Regions from separate parts of the Homo sapiens genome. Here all the other regions are linked to region 1. The links are contacts of gene promoters, found by promoter capture Hi-C in blood cells and fetal thymus (Javierre and others, 2016). All regions are on one chromosome and are shown on one strand. The core of a region is centred on a gene start or on the middle of the fragment in contact, and the rest is flanking DNA. Distances in the headings are between cores, read along the strand shown.

Region 1 (4,425 bases), core at 585-3,084:
CTCAGGCCAGGCGGCCCCTTTTCAGGCCACACACACCCCTCACATTTCAGCTCAATTCCTGTCCCTGGAACTACCCTCATCCATGCCGCCCCCCACTCCCCTTCTCTACAGCCTAACCCCCAAACCCAACTCCTCTAAGGCCTGTTAAAGGAAAACATTATTGGAAATTTTCAGAAGTTGTTCCGAACCCTGGAGACGGGTGTGGGGACCACTGCAACGGGATCTTGCAGTGGGGGAGGGAGACCAGGCTCAGCTCCGAACAGCACAGGCAGTGGGGGTTTGCGGCTGAGGAGCAGGTGGGGTCGCGGGTGGCAAATGACTGGGAGGAACACAGTGCGGGACGGGATGCTGGCTCGGCCGACCCCGCAGGGCTTTCGCTGAAGACAGGTCTGGGCCATCAGACATCCTGGGGATGCTGGGGGACCAGGAACCCGATCCAATATCCAGGGTGGGGGGCTCTGGCTAAACCAACTTAGCAGGGCTCTCTGCGAAAACTGAACCTGACAATGCAGTGCACAGATGGGCCTGGGAGGAGGTTAGGAGGCCACCGAAGTCTGGCTGAGCAAGGAATCTTTGGCAAAGTCTAGTTCCAGGACCTGTTGCTCTCTCTCCTTCCCTCCCCTGTTCTTCCTCTCTCCCTCTCTTCCTCCAACCTTCTCCCTCCTCTTACCCCTTTCCTTCTCCTTTCCCTCGCATTTCTGTCACATTCTTTTTTGTTGTTTTTTTCATTACGGTAAAACTTCACAAATTGTTTCCATCTTAACCACATTTCAGTGACGTTAAGCACATTCACGAACTGTGCAGCCATCACCAGCAGCCTCTACAGATCCTTTTCATCTGTCAAGGCTGAAAATCTGTCCCCACTAAACACGAACTCCCCATTTCCCCTTCCCCAGACCCTGATAACCCCCTTCTACTTTCTGTCTCTATGACTTTGACTCCTCTAGGGGCCTCGGCTGAGTGGAATCATGCGGTGTTTGTCTTAGGACTGGCCCGTTTCCCTCGGCAGAGCGTCCTCAATGTTCCTGCGCGTGGCAGCAGGTGTCGGCATTCCCTTCCTTTTAAAGGCTGAGTAATGTTCCACAGTGTGCATGGCCCACATTTGCTTATGCACGTATCCATCGATGGGCAGGGACAGCGGGGGACGCTTCCCTTTTTCATTTATTATAAATAACGCTGCTGTGAACGTGGGGTAAAGACGCCCCTTGGAGCCTCGGCTTTTGGTCCTCTGGGCTTGTGCCCGGAAGGGGAGTGCTGGGCCACGTGGGTGTCCGTGTTTGATTTTCTGGGACCTGCCCCCCCCCGTCTCCCGCCCCGGCTGCCGCGTCTCACTCCCCGCCGCGGTGCGAGGGGCCCCGTGTGCCGCGCACCCTTCCACCCGTGTTTTGCTGTTTTTTTGACTCTGGGCGTCCCAGGGGTGCAGCGGCCGTGGGGCCCTGGTTTGCTTTCACCTCTTCATCTGCTCACTGGCCGCGAGTGTGTCTTCTTCAGACAAACGTCTGAAGGTCAAGCCCTGGGCTCCTGTGAACCCGGCCGTCTTTGCGGCAGAGTCTGAGGCTCCTTCTTTATTCTGGATCCGGCCTCTGGTCGGAGGCGTGCTCTGCAGGCACTGCTCCCATTGCTGGCAGCCTTTTCTCCCCGTGGCCGCCCGGCCGCCCATCAGAGGCGTTGCAGACGCCCGCCCTCGCCAGCGCAAAGACAAACGCCGGTGGCCGCGGACGCGCCGGCGGCCGGGAGCACCCCAGCGGGCGGGCACCACAGAGGCGCGGTCCTCCGGCGTCTAGATCTGCCATGTGGCGCGCGCCGGAAGCGGCTCTGAGGCCGGAAGTGAGCCTAGAGCGCCGCGGCCCCGAGATGAAGCCGGCGGTGGACGAGATGTTCCCCGAGGGCGCCGGGCCCTACGTGGACCTGGACGAGGTGGCACGGGCCCGGCGGGAGTCTCCGAGCGTGGGGAGCGGGGAAGGGGGAGCGGAAGGGCGGCGTCCTGGTGCGCGGGTCCCGGGGAGGGGAGGCCGGGCGGGTGGGCGATGGGCGCGGCTCCCAGGCTCCCTGCCCCGCGGAGAGCAAATCCCGGTTTCTCCGAGCACCTGGTGAAAGGCGGCGACCGACCGCGGCGGGAAGCGTGTGCCCTAGCCCGGGGGACCAGGAGGCGCAGCCTGAGGGTTGAGTGCCTGCTGGGTGCCCCCACGGCCCCCGGGAACACACCCGTGGTCAGAGGAGTTGCGTTTGCTGCTCTTCGATGGCTGCAGCACCCCATGGGGGCCCGCGGTGCGTCTCCATAACCTCGTGTGGGATTTGAGCTCGTGTTAGGGGATTTGGGGGAAGAAAGTGGGCTTTACTGTGCCTTGGAAGCGAGGATAATTCTCCGATTGGGCCTCTTAATCTTAACTAGAATGAGGGAAGACTGGAGCAGCCGTCATTCCTGTCGGAGCGGAAAAGGAGACATCTGGCATTTATGTGCTTTGCGTAGTGGCCTCGTTCTTCTTTTTAATTATACAGGATTATACAGTCGTCTTGGGGTTTTGTTGGTCTCTATTGTGTTCACAGAGTGACCTTGTCTGATGTGAGCGTTCTGAGATGGTTTATGGTCAGCAGGAGAGCACCACAGCCTAGCTCAGAGTGGCAGGCCAGCTCCTACATGTCAGGGCCTTATGTGCTCTTTCTCAAAGCTTAGGGGCTGCAGAGGTGGTCAGAGGCAGCCCTTGTGCTTGTGGAGGTAATAGCATGGCAGAGCGGCTGATTGCAAATACCAGGTGTCATAGAAAGCCGAAGGCGCACCGACGGATGGACCCTCAGGGCTTTGAGGGGGCTCAGCAAAGGTACAGCTGAGGAGTCGACTCTGTGGCCAAATGCTGGGGGACACATTGGTGTTTGCCAGGTAGTGGGGGATGAAGGCCCGGCAGGAGCAGAGCCCTGGGTTGGGGGATGCCGACTGGCTCACCAAGGGAAGGGAATGTTGTGTCGTTTAACATGGTTGAGCGTGCAGTGCCAGAGAGAGGGGAGACAGTGGGTAGGGACTCTCTCCCTACCCAGATCGTGAAACCATCTGGAACCATGCTAAAGAGGGTGGCTCTGTGCACCCCGCTCCCGAAGCACTTCCATTAAACCCAGGCTTCTCAGTCCTGTTTTACAGTCCTAGGCTTCACAGTCCTAGGCGATGTGGAGCCACCGGAGGGCTTTACAGTGGGGAGTGAGAGGCTCCGACTTGCTCTGTAGGGTGGCAGCATTTACGGGTGAGAGGGTAGAAAAATGAGAGCAGGGAGAACAGGAGAGTTGAAGAGGGTGTGAATGAGGCAGATGGAGGTAGGGACAAGCTTCAAGTGGTAGAATGCGCGTGGCTTACTGTGCTGATGGGGACAGGGAGGGTGGCTGAGAAGCCAGGGGAGGAGACTGAGTGTCCTGGCTTTTCTGAGAGTGTCTGAAAGGGAACAAGGGCATGCAGCTATGTGGGGATCAGGGCAGGTCTGAGCAAGCGGCCTTGTGAATGCTGGGGCCAGGGCAGCAGCAGGACCTGTGGCCAGCTGTCCAGGGTGCTGCTGTCAGAGGAATCTGCTCCCTCTGTCACCGGTTGACTCTAAACAGGACCCAAAATCCTGAGGGCTTCAGATTGCCCAGCTTGGGTTGTGACATGGTTTTTCCACTGCCGTGGAGTTGTGGCAGTGGACGGTCCATGATAGCAGCGGGGCACCAGAACCTCAGAGGCAGAGCAGGTCAGTTTCCTCGGGGAAGTGGTTTCATTCCCAGAAGAGAGAGGGAAGGGATCCTGAGTGGAGGCGATGGGCTCAATTTCGCATGTTTGTGGCCTCTGGCGATGTCCGGCGAGGGATCGGAAAGCTCTCCTTGAGGGGCACAGAGAAGTAGTGGTGCTTAGGTCAGTGGTAGGTTTCTTTTTTAAAGGCAGACAGGAATCAAGGAACAGAAGCCCTTGAGAGACCTTAAAAATCATTCCTTTGAATTCCTCCCCCTCCCCCCAATACACATTCCTGTGTCTGGAACTAAAATGTTGACTCCAACTTGAGCCTGTTTCCCCTCACCCATCTTCTTTTTTTGTGGGGGTAGTGGCCCTGCAATGCACTTATCACCTGTTCTTTCGGAAAACGCACCTGACATAACCTTGCCTTTCCATTCCCCAGGCGGGAGGCAGCACCGGGCTCTTGATGGACTTGGCAGCCAATGAAAAGGCCGTTCATGCAGACTTTTTTAACGGTAAGGATGCTTGGAATGGGATGCCAGATTTAATCTGAATATTTCTTCTCTAGGTGAAGGCAGTGAAGCAACTTGGTGACATGAATAATTTGGATCATAAGGTGGTAGAGCCCCTGCGCTCCTCTCAGAATGCAGTGCAGCCTCTGTGGAGCGATGACACGGGCTGCGGCCACTGGCAGGCAGCCTTATTTTTCAGGAGAAAAGTAGCATGAAATTGTT
Region 2 (4,203 bases), core at 638-3,137, 1.2 Mb after region 1:
GAGTGCAGCCTTCCCTCCGCAGGCCTAGGGCTGCGCTGCTGGAAGCCCCGGGGCTCTGCCAGCCAGGGTGTAGCCTGGCTCACTGCAGCACCACGAGCCGAGGGACCCTTCCTGGTACAGGTTTTGTCTCGGAGCTTTCTTGGGAGGGAGGGAGTCGTTCCCCGGTGTGACGCAGGTGACCTTGGTGGATCCTCCCGAAGGCCACGTGAGCACCGCTGCAGGAGCTCTGTAGGGACGGGTTGAATGGCTGTGGCAGCGGAGAGGTTAAATTAGGAGATTCATATTGACCCCCCTAAAAAGTACTGTCCCTTGAACGGTCGCTCAGTAGAACAGGGTCTTCTTGGCTCTGCAGCAGCCCCGTGGAGCCTGGGATGAGCGGTCCTGAAGTTTGAGCAATTGCAAGGGCGAGGTCAGGGGGCGCTGGGGACCCTGCCTCCCAGCAGGAGGGGAAAGACCCTCCCTGAGGGGCCCGCGCGGGCTTTGATTGTGTGCCCAGACTGAACACGTCCATCCTGGGTAACCTCTGGGGTAAATACTCAAACTCCCTGGGCCCCAGCTCTATGGTGGGGCCTCCCGCTGAGCGCCAGGGGCCGGCAGCCCCCATCCCCACATTCCTGTTCGGTTTTTGTGTTGCGCCCCTGACATTTGTGTCTCTCCCGAGGCCCACCTCGCCTGTTTTTACGAGATGGCTGGACGTGGGAAGGCCCACGCTTGGACGCTGGCTTTGTCCTTTCTGGTATGAAGATAGCTGGCTTGCGAGTTAGTAAACTCATAAACTTGGTCTTATAAACACTCATCATTCCAAATGTGACATCACCTCTATGTACATACATCTTCTTAAACCCAAATATGCAAAAATACCTCCCAAGCAGCTGCCACATTGCAGAGAATTTAATTAAAGGAAAGGCCCCTTTTGGAAATGTGTTTATTTTACCATAAAAAGGGATGGAGTTGCCCTTTCTGGAAGTTTTTCTCTCTAATTAAGCTTAGCCCTGATTACCGCTCTGGAGGTGGCACCCGTAGGAGTCCTGGAGGGAATGTCTCTGGGCTGATAAAACCCAGGACAGTTCAATGAAAGCCAACACAAACGGACTCAAAAGCTGTGTGATTTTTACAAAGGAGGAGAAGATGAAAGCCCTTTGGTACAAAACAAAATATGTATTTTTAAAAATTATGGTTAAGCACATGCTCATTGACCTGGATTCTGCCAGCGTCATGCATGGTTCCGTACTTCTGTAGGAAAAGCAGCTCCCCACCAACCACAAAAATGACTGTGTCTCACTATAGATGCACATGTTGAAGCTTTCTTCAGTCAAGTCAGAGACCTTGAATGCTTATTTTTTCTCAAATTTTGATATATGTTATTTGACAATAATTTATTTCTAAACAAAAATATTTCCTCTTCAAATCATTCAGACCCTTTCTTGGAAAACAGGTGAAAACATTGAACAGGATCATTTAATATTGACCCTGCTCACAGCAGAGTTAGATGGTGGATCCTGACTCAGTCTTATAGCTGAGAAGAGAGAAGCCAGGTTGGAAGCTGAGTGATCTCCATGCTTCCTTTAGTTACCTGTTGCAGAGTGAGAAGCTGACTACACAGATGGACACTGGTCAGACCGTGTATACAAACAGAGCGGCCGGGCGTGGTGGCTCATGCCTGTAATCCCAGCGCTTTGGGAGGCCGAGGCGGGCTGATCGCCTAAGGTCAGGAGTTCAAGACCAATCTGGCCAACATAGTGAAACCCCGTCTCTACTAAAAATACAAAAAAAAGTAGGTGGGTGTGGTGGCGCACACCTGTAGTCCCAGCTACTGGGGAGGCTGAGGCAGGAGAATTGCTTGAAACCGGGAGGCAGAGCTTGCAGTGAGCCGAGATTGCGCCATTGCACTCCAGCCTGGGTGACAAGAGCGTGACTTCGTCTCAAAACAAACAAACAAACAAAAACAAAGCTCTGGCCTGCAACCTGCGGCAACCAGCCCCGGAAACCCACCCCTTTCCTACAGTGACCAGCCCCGAGGCCAGCTTGCTGTCAATAAGCCAGATGTGGAGGAAGGCAGGCCACCATCTCCAGCAACCTGTCCAGGAAGCCAAACAAGAGCCTTTGTAACAACTGACCCCAAGTGGCCAGGATTCAATGAACAGCTGACATCTTCCCTAATTTTTGTCCCTGCTTCTAACATAGGACCAACTAGAGAAAGCCAAATATACCCATAACCACCCACATGGGTGTCCTGCTTTTAGTGAGCTGTGTTCAGCTCCCCCACTATTCACAGATATTATGATTGTGTGCCTAAAAGTACATAAAGAATCTAAGTTGAATTTATTAGAATTAATAAGAATGTAACAAGTTGCTGGATACAAAATCAATATACAAAGATCAATTACATTTTACATTCCAGAAACAACTAGGGAAAAAAACAGAAAAACAAACCATTTTTTAAAAAAAATGAAGTCCCTGGAAATAAGCTTGAACAAAATGCATATGAATTCTATGATGGAAAAAGAGAACTTTTTATAAAGACATTATTTATTTATTCATTTATTTATTTTATTTGTTTGGTTTTTTTTTTTTTTTTTTTTTTTTTGAGATCGTCTTGCCTTATCCCTCAGGCTGGAGTGCAGTGGTGCGATCTCAGCTCACTGCAACGTCCACCTTCCAGGTTCAAGTGATTCTTCTGCCTCAGCCTCCCAAATGGAAGAATACATTAAGTTCATGGATGAGAAATAGCTAATATATGAAGATGTAAATTCTTCCCAAATAGGTATGTAGATTTCATGCAATCCCAGTCAAAAAGTCCATAGTTTTTAACGCTTATACACTGTTGGTGGGAGTATAAATTAGTTCAACCATTGTGGAAGACAGCAAGGTAATTCCTCAAAGACCTGAAGACAGAGATACCATTCAACCCAGCAATCCCATAGGTATATACTCAAAGGAATATAAATCATTCTATTATAAAGACACATGCACGGGTATGTTCGTTGCAACACTATTCACAATAGCAAAGACATGGAATCAACCTAAATGCCCATCAATGATAGACTGGGTAAAGAAAATATGATACATATACACAATATAATTATGTAGCCATAAAAAAGAATGAGATCATGTCCTTTGCAGCAACATGGATAGAGCTGGAGGCCATGATCCATAGCAAACTAACACAGGAACAAAAAACCAAATACCACATGTTCTTACTTATAAGTGGGAGCTAAATGATGAGAACACAGGGACATATAGAGGGGAACAACACACACTGGGATCCATTGGAGGGTGGAGGGTGGAAGGAGGGAGAGGATTAGGAAAAATAATTAATGAGTACTAAGCTTAATACTTGGGTGATAAAATATCTGTACAACAAACCCTGTGACACAGATTTACCTATGTAGCAAACCTGCACGTGCACCCCTGTACTTAAAATAGAAGTTTTTTAAAAAACCTCTAAAAAACCCCCAAAAACAAAGCGTCCATAGTTTTTTTTGGGAGGGGTGGAAGGCAAGGGTTAGGGTGGAATTTGACACCAAATGACACTAAAATGTATATGAAAACATGAAGGGCCAAGAAGAATTAAGCCATTTTTGAAAAATAATCACAAAGGTTGGCCTCATTGTTTACAGGTAGTGGCAGCAGTAGCAGTCTTAGTATCTGAAGCAGTTAAAATAATACAGGGAAGAGATCTTACTGTGTGGACATCTCATGATGTGAACGGCATACTCACTGCTAAAGGAGACTTATGGCTGTCAGACAACCGTTTACTTAAATATCAGGCTGTATTACTTGAAGGGCCAGTGCCGCAACTGCGCACTTGTGCAACTCTTAACCCAGCCACATTTCTTCCAGACAATGAAGAAAAGATAGAACATAACTGTCAACAGGTGATTGCTCAAACCTACGCTGCTCGAGGGGACCTTCTAGAGGTTCCCTTGACTGATCCCGACCTCAACTTGTATACTGATGGAAGTTCCTTTGTAGAAAAAGGACTTCAAAAAGCGGGGTATACAGTGGTCAGTGATAATGGAATACTTGAAAGTAATCCCCTCACTCCAGGAACTAGTGCTCAGCTGGCAGAACTAATAGCCCTCACTCGGGCACTAGGATTAGGAAAAGGAGAAAGGGCAAATATATATACAGACTTTAAGTATGCTTACCTAGTCCTCCATGCCCACACAGCAATATGGAGAGAAAGGGAATTCCTAACCT
Region 3 (3,823 bases), core at 1,166-3,665, 1.7 Mb after region 1:
TTACACAGATTCGTGTGTAAGTAAAGAGCAAAAACTCAGACCACTTGGATTCAAGTCCCTGCTCTGCCATGCTGTCCTAGTGTGAGACCAGACAGGCAGGTATAAAGCACCCCCTCCATAAGGGGGCTCTTTCCAGATGCTGACATTGTTTTTTATATTAAAATTAATCTCTTTTCAGTACTACTGTACATGAGACTCAACCACAGGTGAAACGGGGGTGATGAGTAAGTGTCCCGGCTCTGCAGGGTTTGACAGTCCACTGAGTTGCTCATGCTGATCCCACAACCAGACTCGCCGCAGATCAACAAGCCGGCATGAACAGCTCTTTAAGCCACCACCCCAGTCTTCCTTCAGTAACTATCCTCCCCTGTAATTACTCCACAGTTGCGGTTACTACAGAGTGAAAAAGTTCAAAGTCGGAGTGGGAAAGATTCAGGTGTAGGGCAATAACCAACAGGTAAATGGCGGCCACAGGACTTTTGCTGAGCCCTCTTCTGGGCCCCCTCTGCTGGCCTCTGTGCTATCCATTCCTGGCCCTGCTCAAAGTAGACTCAGAATCTTTCCCCAGCTCCAGATTCAAAAGCAACTTCAAGTTTGTGTTTCGCTGATCAACTACTCCAATGACAACACAACTGCCCCAGGATAGCACTTAAGCTTCAACTGAAAATCTGTTGCCCCTCTACCCGAGGCCGAAACACACTGAATAACAAAACAGCAGTGCATGAGGATATAAAAAGGAGCCCTCAGCTGAGTGTGGTGGCTGCCGCCTGTAATCCCAGCACTTTGGGAGGCAGAGGCGGGCAGATCACCTGAGGTCTAGAGTTCGCTATCAGCCTGGCCAATATGCCAATATGGTGAAGCCCCGTCTCTACTAAAATACAAAAATTAGCCGGGCATGATGCCAGCACCTGTAATCCCAGCTACTAGGGAGGCTGAGGCCAGAGCATCGCTTGAACCCCCGAGGCGGAGGCTGCAGTGGGCCGAGATCACGCCACTGCACTCCACCCTGGGCAACAAGAGCGAAACTCCGTCTCAAAAAAAAAGGAGACCTGTGCAGCCGACAAAGCCAGTGTTTATTCCCCAGGAACTCTCTTTATACTGGGAAGTAGCTGTTGGTCCTCTTTTTCCCACGGAACACGCATCATTCCGTCTCTCACTCTCACATGAGATGACATCCTAGACCCTAAGGTCCTGGCTGTCTCTGAAGTCAAAGTCAACGCCAACCAAAGCCCAGGATGGTAGATGCTTTGTCTGGCTTTTTCTGGTCACTGCAGTATCCTCTGCTGGGTCTAGCCAACAGCAGGTCTTCAATACAAGTCTGTTAAATGATTGGAAGGAGGTGCAGAGGGAGGGATGGATGGAAAAGCCTATCTGCACCAGTCTCCAAGTCAATCTTTTAAGATGTTTAAGAAATGTATTGGTTTATTACTAAGTAGGAGAGGAACCCCTCCAAAGACAAATATAGGCATGTAAAGAAAGCCCAGAACACACGAAACTATTGGCGCGAATGGCAAGCTCAGAAATCCAGCAAGAAGGAACTCCCACCACACCACCGGGAAACGGGAACCTGTCCTGACCGCTTCCTTCACATCTGCATGGTAGGGACACTGCAAGGTGGAGACCCTAAGTAGGACAGTTATTTTGGAAGGTGGGTGTGAGCCTTTCTATCTGCCTCCCTTGCTGGTGGGCCAAAGGCCCCTGGACATGTTGTGTCACTGACGAGCTCGCTGGAGACGGCGTCCCCGTTGTCCCTGGTCTGTGCCTGTGGTGGGTGGGAAGGCTGCCCCCCGCTGTACCACCGGACACGCCGTGGGCGGCAGAATGGTGAAAAAGTGCCTGCCCTCCCTAGGGCTACCCTCTGGCTGGCTTTCCTGATCCGTGCGCTCAGAGCTGGAAGGTGGCCCACGTCCTACTTTTGCGGTTGGGTCATATCAAATCTGTATCGGCTAACGGGAAGGAAGTTACGAGCAAGTTCCACCGGAAAGAAAATCTAGCGCGGGGACTGCACTCGAGGCCGAGGAGAGGGCAGCGCGTCCGTGGTGGGGTCGCCCAGCACTGCGAGCCGCGCTGAACCCCACCCCCGGCCTGCAGGGTGCGGCTCCCTGGCTGCCCCGTGGACCCGGCCAGCCCGGGACGAGGACGCAGGACCTCGGCAGGGACGCCGGAGCCAGCCCTTCGCCATCCCCACACGCCCCGCGGCCCAGTGGCCGCGCGCACGTTACCTGCGGAGCCCGGCCCTGCCCGCCCGTCTGGGCTGCCGCCCTCCGCCATGGATGCTTCCGCCTCCGCGGCCGCCCCTGACCCGCGCACGCCCCTCGGGCAGGAAGCAGAACGACCCGCGACCACTTCCGGCGCCGAGGGCAATGGGGGGCGCGTCGGGGTCGCGGCTTCCGGCGGGCGCGCGCCGGCCTCACTGGTTTCCGGGGCCGCGCAGGGGCCACGCCTCCGCTTCCGGCCTCGCTGTCTAGCAGGGCGCTGGCTGGTCCCTTCGTCCGGCGGGAACTTCGCGGCTAACCGACTCTCTGGATGCCGGCCGCGCTGTGGTTTCCTCACATAAGAAGCCAAGGAGTCGGAAAGCCCGTTGCCTGAGGCAGCAGTCTGGGAATTTCGGTCCGGCGGGCCGTCCCCACCCACACGGACGGGGCGTGGCTTCTGCCAGATGTGGGCGGGGCCCCGAGGGCCGTGGCGGGCGGGACCCGGGCCTCGGCCGGGCTGGCTTGGTCCCCGCAGGTGCCCCCCGCTAGCCACGAGCAGCCCCGGGAGGGTGGATTCGGAGGCGCGGGGACTGGTGAGGGCCCACTGCAGGGCTGAGCGTCGCAGCGTGCTGTGGTTTTAGATGAATGCTCCTCCAAATCCCTTCCATGAAGCCCTCAATCAGGTCGGTAACTGATGACAGCCAGTGGCTGACGCGAAGTTCATTGAATAAATGAATGCATTCGTGAACAACCGAGTAACATTTCTTGCACACTCCCAACTTCAAATATCGCAGCGTCGTCCCACCATGAGTATTGGTGTTGGTCCTAAAGCACGGATTCCCTTGGCTCCTCCCATTCTCCCCTGCTGAGTTAGACAGCGGGGCCTCATGCAGGAGGAGGATTTGTACACAGCACAGCAGGAGGCTGATGAGGGAGTCCGGAGACCCCAGCAGTCGTGGGCGTGAGCTGCTGGCTCATCCGTGTGTACAACATTCCAGACTGGAGTAAGGGAAGCCGCAGGCGCAGCCCCGCGAGTGCCCCTGCTGAGGCTGGCCCTGGGTGGCCCAGATGCACCAGGGGGCCCACTGGGGGCAGACCTGGCAGGCCCTGTGGGGGTTGGAGGCGGGAGTGGGGGTACTTCCTACAGTGGTGTTTGGTCTTGATGACAGCAGAGAGCACCACTGGCATGAGGGACAGGTGACTCCGATGATGACGCTGCCAGGCCAGGAGCCAGGGGTGTGCCCAGCCCCTGGCTCCACCACAGCTGCACATCCCGAACTCGGAGCTTCAGCAACTCCGAAGCCTGAAGCCGCCTCACGTGTTGTTGGATGGATGAATGGATAAACGAAATGCCGTCCATCCATACAATGGAATCGTACTCAGCCTTAGAAAGGAAATGCTGTCCGTCCATACAATGGATTCGTACTCAGCCTTAGAAAGGAAGGGAATCCTGACACACGTCACAACACGGATGACCTTGAAGACGTTATGCTGAGTGAGATAAGCCAGCCACAAAAAGACAAATACAGTACTGTGTGATTCCAATTATTTGAGGTCCCTGGAGCAGTGAAATGGTGGAGCGGAATGGGGGTTGCCAAGGGCTGGGGGAGTGGGGAATGAGGAGTTAG

What was found. Contacts are between HindIII fragments. The CHiCAGO score rates a contact against its expected background, and 5 or more counts as called.
Region 2: a contact is called between a fragment that was not itself captured here and the fragment with the promoter of COPS9 in region 1, in 2 of 17 cell types (neutrophils and M0 macrophages). The highest score is 6.9, in neutrophils.
Region 3: the fragment with the promoter of ASB1 here is called in contact with the fragment with the promoter of COPS9 in region 1 in 3 of 17 cell types (total B cells, fetal thymus and naive CD8 T cells); the score reaches 11.6 in total B cells.

The regions. Positions count from the first base shown.
Region 1 is chr2:240,133,714-240,138,138 of GRCh38, reverse strand. COPS9 (COP9 signalosome subunit 9) reads left to right here and starts at 1,834. Exons shown (of 3, transcript NM_001163424.2): 1 at 1,834-1,917; 2 at 4,134-4,206. The coding sequence starts at 1,855. RefSeq lists enhancers at 1,313-1,422, 1,433-1,532 and a silencer at 1,973-2,022. The HindIII fragment of the contact is 4,227 bases long and covers 1-2,671 here.
Region 2 is chr2:238,981,809-238,986,011 of GRCh38, reverse strand. No RefSeq gene overlaps it. Among named protein-coding and RNA genes, the nearest start is that of LINC01940, 58 kb to the right of the region's middle. RefSeq lists enhancers at 1-49, 50-1,032. The HindIII fragment of the contact is 1,166 bases long and covers 1,305-2,470 here.
Region 3 is chr2:238,425,519-238,429,341 of GRCh38, reverse strand. It overlaps ASB1 (ankyrin repeat and SOCS box containing 1), which reads right to left and starts at 2,415. Exons shown (of 5, transcript NM_001040445.3): 1 at 2,223-2,415. The coding sequence starts at 2,271. LOC124908002 (a long non-coding RNA gene) reads left to right here and starts at 2,448. Exons shown (of 2, transcript XR_007088163.1): 1 at 2,448-3,823. RefSeq lists enhancers at 1,667-1,786, 3,299-3,823 and silencers at 2,037-2,556, 2,577-2,966. The HindIII fragment of the contact is 6,850 bases long and covers 657-3,823 here.